Linked DNA regions of Homo sapiens: all the other regions are linked to region 1. The links are contacts of gene promoters, found by promoter capture Hi-C in blood cells and fetal thymus (Javierre and others, 2016). All regions are on one chromosome and are shown on one strand. Each heading gives the region's core, a stretch centred on a gene start or on the middle of the fragment in contact. The rest is flanking DNA. Distances are from core to core; before and after follow the strand shown. Region 1 holds the start of RHOC (ras homolog family member C). Region 2 overlaps LOC107985189 (a long non-coding RNA gene). Region 3 overlaps CTTNBP2NL (CTTNBP2 N-terminal like).

Region 1 (2,767 bases), core at 159-2,658:
CTCTGAACCTCAATTTGCTTCTCAGTAAAATGGAGATAGCTACCTCATGGGATTCTTGTAGTTAATGTATGTGGACCCAGGTCCATGTAATATGGATTCAATAAATGTTAGCTATCTTGAAATTGCATTCCTCATTTAGACTCTAAGTTGTTTGAAGGCAGAAATGGATCTTCCGAACATAGCTCTCAGTTCACCCTCGAGAAATGTTCATTGAGTCAGTTAAGAGGCCTGGGGCCAAACTGCTGCGGACCTGTTTTCACATTTGTCAAATGTCTGGATTGCACTTCAGATATTTAAAGTCTGTATGACTCCTAACATTCATTCATTCATCAAATATTTGTTGACAACCTATTATGTGCCACTCACTCTGCTAGACAACGGGGGAAGGGACAGGCTGGAGGAGCCCGTGAGGTAGCAGGGCCAGACCACCAGTTTGGAGCCAGACAGGCCCGGCTGTGTGAATTCTTGCTGTCACAAGTCAAAAACAGTTGTGTAAGCCACTTGATTTCTCTGAACCTCAGCTTCTCTATGGGCAAAAGGGGATGGGTATATTTTCCCCAGAGATCTGTGATGAATATTGAAAGGGTTAAGCTGTGTAGTGTCCCAAGCACAAGCCAATGAAATGTTGGTGGACGTCCTCATTCTACTCCCACCTCCTCAGCTCCCTTACAGGGAAAGGAGATACGCGTGTAGGTAAATATCCTATGCGCCAAGTCAGACCTAGGAGTGGGAACAGAATTCACAGCTGGGATCCAGAAGCATTTCTAGGCGCACCCTTTGAGGAGTAGGTAGGAATTGGACTCCTGGAAATTCCAGGCCCAGGGAAGAAAGCGAATTGTGAGGAGGAACGGTGGTCTGGGTCTGAACGGCTCTGAGAGGTCTTCAAGTTTGGGGGATGACGTTGGGCTGTACGATCCTAGGAACAAGAGGGTGGACATCTCCCCCCAACCAACACACCCGCGCCGGGCCCTGGGACCTCCCGGCGGATACCCTTTCCCAGTCCCGCTTCCCGCGAGGTCCCAGGTGCAGCAGGAGCGGGTGGCCGCTTGGCCACAGGAGGGCAGCAGCGGCCCTTCCTGACCCCACCCCGAGCACCTCTTAACTTTCCCGACGCCGGTCCTCCCCTAGGGGATTGAAGGCTGGGCAGAGTCTGAGTCCACCCGGGTCGTGCTCCCCCCGCTCGCCCGGCTCCTCCGCAGTCCAGGAATCTCCCCGTGGCTCTCCCCGACCTGGAGGGGTGGACGCCCCTGGCCCCCAGTCCCCGGCCTGCGGAGGGGGCCGGTGGCTGCGGCCCTGCGCGGGGCCGGGGCGGGCCGAGCCAAGGGCCGCCCCCGGCCGACCCTCCCCCTGCCGGGCCCGCCCTCCCCGCCGCGGCGCTGGAGGAGGGCGGGGCGGGGCCCTGGGGTCAGTCTGAGCCTCCGGCACCGGCCGCGCAGCTGGAGGCGGCGGAGCGGAAGGTACCCTGGGCCGGGGCTGCGGGCGGTGGGGCGTCTTGGGAACTCGTCCCCAGGAGAGCACTTTCCCTTCCTCGCTGGCCCGGAGATCGGGGCCCGTGCGAGGAGGGGCTTCGGCCTGGGCGTGGACCCCGTTCCCTCCAAGCGGAGTCGGCATCCGGGCTGGGCGGTGGTCGGACCGCGTCGGCCCCTCCCCGGGCTGCAGCGAGGGGGCCCGGACCTGCCGGCAGGGGCTCTGGCCTCCTGAGGTCCGAGTCGGAGCCCCTTCCCTTCTCCTCCCAGCTTCCCGGAACCTGCCCCGCCGGGCGAGGGGCGAGGGAACTTCAACTCAGACGCCCCAGCCCCCAGGGTGGGCGGCCGCAGGGGACCTAGAGTGGGATGGGGTGGGAATTCCTCCAGGCCAGGAGGGAGGTATGGCGGGAATAGGGGCGGGATGTGACCATTGGGGCCTGCCACTGCTCGGCAGGGTCTGGACGCCGCCCTGGACGGTTCCTGGAGCCCGCTTGTGTTGAGGATAAGGGAGATGGGGAAGGATCCAACTCTGTGTGTGTGTGTGTGTGTGTGTGTGTGTGTGTGTGTGTGTGTGTGTGTGTGTGTGTGTGTGTGTGTGTGTGTGGTGTGTGTGTGTGTGTGTGTGTGTGTGTGTGTGTAGAGAGAGAGAGAGAGAGAGAAAATGAGATTGAGAATCCTCCTTCTTCATACTCGAACCAAGAAAGAGTATCCTGGGGTTTGGGACTGGGATCCCGAGGCCGAGTCCCGCCCTCACTCTGGTTTTAAAGTTGAGAATGCAGTATCTCTTGGTATCTCCAGAACGGATTCCTTCCCTAGGTGTAGGGTGGGCCGGCAAAGTCAACCGGCCGCTCTGGATCATCTGGGAATTCAAGAGAGCGATTGGAGAGAGGTCTGATGTAGCCACACTGTCTTGTCTTGGGGAAGGCCCCAGAAGTTCCAGGCTCCATTCCAGGCCCTGTGTGGGGCTCAGTTGCCCCTCTTAAGGGGTCAGTGGGACAGTCCCTCTGGGGCTGCCTCTCACAGGGAGTTGTCCATGCCATCTTGGCCTTGGGCCTAGTGTCCTGGCCTGGGCTGCCTGCTGTTCTGGCCCAATCATAGCCTGGAGGGAAAGTCTTCTAATTGGGCTGGAGGCTCCAGGTCCCTTAACGCATGCCTCAACCCCGGGTTTCTGTCCTCTGCCTCCCACCACTCTGGTGCCGTCTGAATTACCCTGCTGGGGGGACAGCAGTGGCATACTCATGCCTAAGTGACTGGCTTTCACCCCAGTAGTGATTGCCCTCCATCAACACTGCCCACCCCAG
Region 2 (2,748 bases), core at 36-2,535, 280 kb before region 1:
CTTACTTGAGACCTGTTACCCATTTCTTCTTGCCTATTGCTCCCTTTTAGAATGGGAATGTCTGTCGTATGCCTGTACACCATTGTATTTTGGAAGCACATAACTTGATTTCACAGGCTCACAACGGGAGAGGAATTTGCCTCATGATGAATTGTACCTTGAGTCACATCCAAATGTTATGAAGATGATATTTAGATGAGACTTCAGAGTCAGACTCTAAAGTTGATGCTGGAACAAGTTAAGACTTTTGATGTTATTGGGATGGAATGATTATATTTTGTAAGTAAGAAGGACATATATTTTGGGGGGCCAGGGGTGGAATTCTACAGTTTGTGTCTCCTCCAAAACTCATATTGAAATTTAATCTACAATGAAACACTCTTTAAGAGGTAGGGCCTTCAGAGGGTAGGCCCTGAGGGCTCCACTCTCACAGTGCTTTAGAAGAGGACTTGAGGGGGTGGGTTTGCCCCTTCTGTCTCTTCCTCCATGTAAGGACACAGATTTCAGACCCTCTGAAAAATGCAGCAACAAGGCATTATCTACTAGTGGCTTGATATTGGACTTTGCAGACTCCAGAACTGTGAGAAACGAATTCCTATTATTTGTAAATTATCTAGTCTTAGGTATGTTGCTATAGCAGCACAAACGGACTATGAGACTCAGTAACCAAAATGACTCAAATTATATCTTGTGGCTGAACCATGTGGAATATTAACCTCTGGGGTTGTGTGACAGGTAATAACAGGGTTGGGGAGCACATTAGCTTATACCTTCCTCAGCCTAAAAATGATACATGTCATTTCCTTGATAGGCCATTAGCTTGCTGTAATCACATGATCCAAACCTAACTGTAAGGGATGCTGGGAAAAGCAGGGGAGCAGTGGAATATTTGATGAGTACTGTTTATACAACAGCAGTTCTATAAATATTTCCTTGAGGGCAAGAATCTGTTTTATTTACTGATATTCCCAAACATCTAGAAAAGTGCCTGACATTTAGTGTTCACTAATAATTACTGAATCAATTAATTGATGAATTAATAAATGGCATGTGAAGCTGGTATGAATCTATTCTGAAAAGTTGCCAGATAGAATGATATGCAAGTTCAGGTTAATATTTCAGCAACAATTAGTGTTAACAAGAAAAAGGTATTTTGGTAAGAATTTATTTGAAGTTGACTAACATTCTCAAATGTAGTTACAGATTACATAACATCTTTTTTACAGGAGCTTAACAGTTCTTTAAATTGACAAAAATGTGAGGAAAGACAACAGTTAATTCTAAAAGCCAGTTTGGATTTTTTGTTTCATTTAAAAACAAACAGCCTGTGGCCGGGCACGGTGGCTCACACTTGTAATCCCAGCACGTTGGGAGGCCAAGGTGGGCAGATTACAAGGTCAGGAGTTCGAGACCAGCCTGGCCAACATGGTGACACCCCATCTCTACTAAAATTACAAAAATTAGCTGGGCGTGGTGGTGCGCACCTGTAGTCCCAGCTCCTCGGGAGGCTGAGGCAGAAGAATCGCTTGAACCCAGGAGGCGGAGGTTGCAGTGAGCCGAGATCGCGCCACTGTACTCCAGCCTGGGCCACACAGTGAGACCCTGTCTCAAAAAAGAAAACAAAATGAACAGCCTGCAGTCTTCCTAGAAATGACTGTTTAGGGAGTTGGGAACAGCTTGCCATGGAGAGAATTTAAGATTGTCATAATAGGAAAAGGTAAGGAGTAGCGAGGTAGGGGGAAACATTCAATAAACAGCAGTCCTTTTCACTCTAATAGAAAAACCTGTTCTCAGTTTTACCAGCATATTTAGAAAGGCACAAAGAGTTCAATATTGGAGTTTTCAGAAAGGAATCTCAAAGTGATTATGAGATGTAATCATTCATCTTTCATTCATCATCCAAATAGGTACAAAGCACAATGCCCAAGATTGTGCTAAGAATCGAGGTGCAAAAGATAGGATTTCTATGCTAATGAAACTTCTAGTCTAATTGGGAAGATAGACATTGAACAACTATTACAATAAGCGTGACATTGGTTGCAAAAAGGGAAGTGCCAGGTGCTATAAAGTGACAGACTGGGGAACTACGGGTTTTGGGCAGTAGAAAAGTAGGATCTGAAACAATCTCAAGAAATTGATGTTTCAACTTAACTCCAAAAGATAAGGACGATTTATTTGGCAATGGAAAAGTGAGGGGAAGACAACTCCAGACGGTGGGAATAGCCTGTCCTCACAACCCTACTATGAAGTCACACAGGATTACATGCTTAATTATATAGCTGGAGAAGTTGCAGAAGAAGAAAGTGACTTGTTCAAGGGACACTGTTTAACAGGGCACTTAATTAGGACCATAGGCCGCATTCCTAACCTTTTTAGGGCAAGGCACACAATTCTCTTTCTAAGGAAGACTCTCTTTCCTCACCAAAATAGTAGCTGAGTCAATCACTCCTATAGCCCATCAGGCACATCAACCAAGCATGAGCTATACTGATATAAAAGATATCAATTTATAATCTGTCCCACAGCTTTCAGGATGAGAACTAAAGAGCCCTAAAGGTCTCTCATGTAGGAAGAGGGTGGTGTGTAGTGGCAGAGAGGGAAGCTTCATCAGTGAGAGCCAAGTGCTAAAAGCAGCTGCGTGTGACATTTCCGTCAGCAGTCCTTCCTCCCTCATTGTGTATGAGACACACATCAGATGCTCTGGTTTATGATTTCAGCTTCAGAGTACATACCCTTTGAGATCCAAGC
Region 3 (2,700 bases), core at 201-2,700, 300 kb after region 1:
ATTACAGGCGTGAGCCACTGCGCCCGGCCGCATACATGTCTTTTTAAGATCCAGTTTAATTCGCTTTCTGGGACAACATAATAGGTATCAGGTTTTTGTTTTGTTTAGTTCTAAGACTCATGCAACTCTGCTATATCTCTCTGTGAGTGTGAATGTGTGAATGTGTAAGTGTGTGTGTGTACACATCTCTTTCTCTGTCTCTCATATATGATGTCAGCAAGATTTATATGTATATTGAAGAAAAGAAGGAAGTAGCCTTATGCCCATAAACAAACATTCAGATATCTCTTCCCTCAAATGAGAACATTAGTGCAAAGCTATTAAAAACAGGTCTGGGCTGGGTGCAGCGGCTCACGCATGTAATCCCAGCACTTTGGAATGCCGAGGCAGGCAGATCACCTGAGATAAAGAGTTCAAGACCAGCCTGGCCAACATGGTGAAACCCCATCTCTACTAAAAATACAAAAATTAGCCGGGCATGGTGGCGCACACCTGTGATCCCAGCTTCTCAGGTGGCTGAGGAAAGAGAATCGCTTGAACCCAGGAGGTGGAGGTTGCAGTGAGCTGAGATTGCACCACTGCACTACAGCCTGGGAGACAGAGCAAGACTCTATCTCAAAACAAGAACAAAAGGTCTGTCTACCTGGATATCTGTTTACACCATCTCAGGTATTCTCATCTGAGACAAGGCCAAACTAGAACTACATTAGTTAAGCTACTGGAATGGATGTTAATGAAAATGAATAACAACTTTTATATTAATAAATTTTTTATCATTGAACATTTTAAAAAAGATATGTCTTTTAACATCAGAATATTATTACCAGGAAACTGAAACATTACATTTTTTTTGTTTGTTTTTTTTGAGATGGAGTTTTGCTCTTGTTGCCCAGCCTGGAGTGCAATGGCGCAACCTCGGCTCACCGCAACCTCGGCCTCACCGCAACCTCCGCCTCCTGGTTCAAGAGATTCCCCTGCCTCAGACTCCCAAGTAGCTGGGATTACAGGCTTGTGCCACCATGCCTGGCTAATTTTGTATTTTTAGTAGAGACGGGGTTCCTCCATTTTGGTCAAGCTGGTCTGGCACTCCTGACCTCAAGTGACCCGCCCACCTCGGCCTCCCAAAGTGCTGGAATTACAGGCGTGAGCCACTGCACCCGGCTGAATCATTTCTATATAATTTGTTAGATGGCTTTATTTCATTTAAATGAAATTGTAACATGATTTCAATCAAATATGTATCTGACCGTCTCTATTGTCTATCTGTCCATCAGTCCCCTAAATTTTTGCTTTTCTGAAATAATGCCACCATAACTTGTAAAATACCACAAGGGAACAATAACATGTAGATTGATTATTTTCAGTAAGATGATTCATGGGCCACAATTCTAGAGGCAGCCTGGAATGCAAACCCTTCAAATGCTAATGTAGGATGATGACGTCATTGATTCCACTAAGATTCCACACTGGGGAGAAACTCCAGAGTATGGTATGAAGGATTAACCATCAAACAGTTAAGGAATCTGTGTTTTAGCGATGCCCATAACCTGACTTTATCTGAACTGCAAAAAAAACTTCAAATAATCCTCTAGCAGAAATAAAACTCGTGATGTTGTTTTGTCTTCTAAGACAGATAACTGACTTAAAAAAAATTTAACAATTGAGTATCAGTTGAATATTTCCAACAACAAGCCTGGCAATTGTTGTTCTATGGTTCTTCAGGGACAGTAATTCTGCTGGGAGACAGTATGTTATAGTGGAAAGCACATGGATTTTGGAATCTGACAGAGCTGAGTTTGCATCCTGGCTCTGCCACTTGCTCTTTCATCCATTTAACCTTTGAACTTCAGTTTTTTAGCTATAAAATGGACATAACAATACATACTGTAACAGGAGGCTGCATGGTTTAAATGAGTTAGTGACTGGTCAGCTTCTCATTTCTCATCCTTAAAGAGCATACTTTTTGGTTTCATCTGCAAGGATAATGAAGTTTTCCTTTTCCAATGGGTCATCATTGTCTATCATTCACGTGTCTAATTTACAAACCAAAACAAGTTTACTTCTGACTTCTGGCAGGTTGATCTGCACCAAAAAGAAAGAGATGGCCTGGCCAGTTCCTGGGAAAGTCAGTTTAGAGACATGTTCAAGCCAATTGTATCTGCACAATACTTGGGAAAAGAAAAGGCCAGCCTTCTGCTTAGATTAGTTTTTTGTGCCTTTAGCATACAGGTAAACGCATACCTTTGCTTCCACTGAATTTTAACAGGTTTTAATCAAGTCACAACTTTAACTTGTGATGACTGAGAAATGGGTTTCCTGAAAATATCACAGCTATTTTTTTACATTAAATTAAATGCATAATGGATATGTATCTACATTCGTAATTCAAGAGCAGTTATCACATTCTATTACATCAATTCATCTGTTTACATATCTGTCTTCTGTCTCACAAGACTCTGAACTCATCTGAACAACTACTCTGTCTATTCAACTTGATCACACTTAGCACTAGCAGTGTCTGGTTCAGATACTGAAAAAATGCTGGTTGGAAAGAAATGTACAGCACTTTCAATCTCAGCCAACACAACTGGACTTTACCTTTTAGAAAATGGGAAGCCACTCAACATTTTTAACCTGGTGAAAATCATAACAAAAGCATAGTTTTAGGAAAGTTAATGCTTACAGTACAGGGCTGACTTG

What was found. Contacts are between HindIII fragments. The CHiCAGO score rates a contact against its expected background, and 5 or more counts as called.
Region 2: a contact is called between a fragment that was not itself captured here and the fragment with the promoter of RHOC in region 1, in 2 of 17 cell types (M1 macrophages and M0 macrophages). The highest score is 5.5, in M1 macrophages.
Region 3: a fragment that was not itself captured here is called in contact with the fragment with the promoter of RHOC in region 1 in 11 of 17 cell types (total B cells, neutrophils, naive B cells and 8 more); the score reaches 9.5 in total B cells.

The regions. Positions count from the first base shown.
Region 1 is chr1:112,705,768-112,708,534 of GRCh38, reverse strand. It overlaps RHOC (ras homolog family member C), which reads left to right and starts at 1,408. Exons shown (of 6, transcript NM_175744.5): 1 at 1,408-1,457. RefSeq lists a silencer at 969-1,688. The HindIII fragment of the contact is 12,151 bases long and covers 1-2,767 here.
Region 2 is chr1:112,983,258-112,986,005 of GRCh38, reverse strand. LOC107985189 (a long non-coding RNA gene) reads left to right here. Exons shown (of 2, transcript XR_001738193.2): 1 at 1-2,748. Among named protein-coding and RNA genes, the nearest start is that of SLC16A1-AS1, 28 kb to the right of the region's middle. The HindIII fragment of the contact is 2,638 bases long and covers 1-2,604 here.
Region 3 is chr1:112,403,233-112,405,932 of GRCh38, reverse strand. All of the region lies in intron 1 of CTTNBP2NL (CTTNBP2 N-terminal like), which reads right to left. Among named protein-coding and RNA genes, the nearest start is that of CTTNBP2NL, 8.4 kb to the right of the region's middle. RefSeq lists an enhancer at 933-1,458. The HindIII fragment of the contact is 6,480 bases long and covers 1-2,700 here.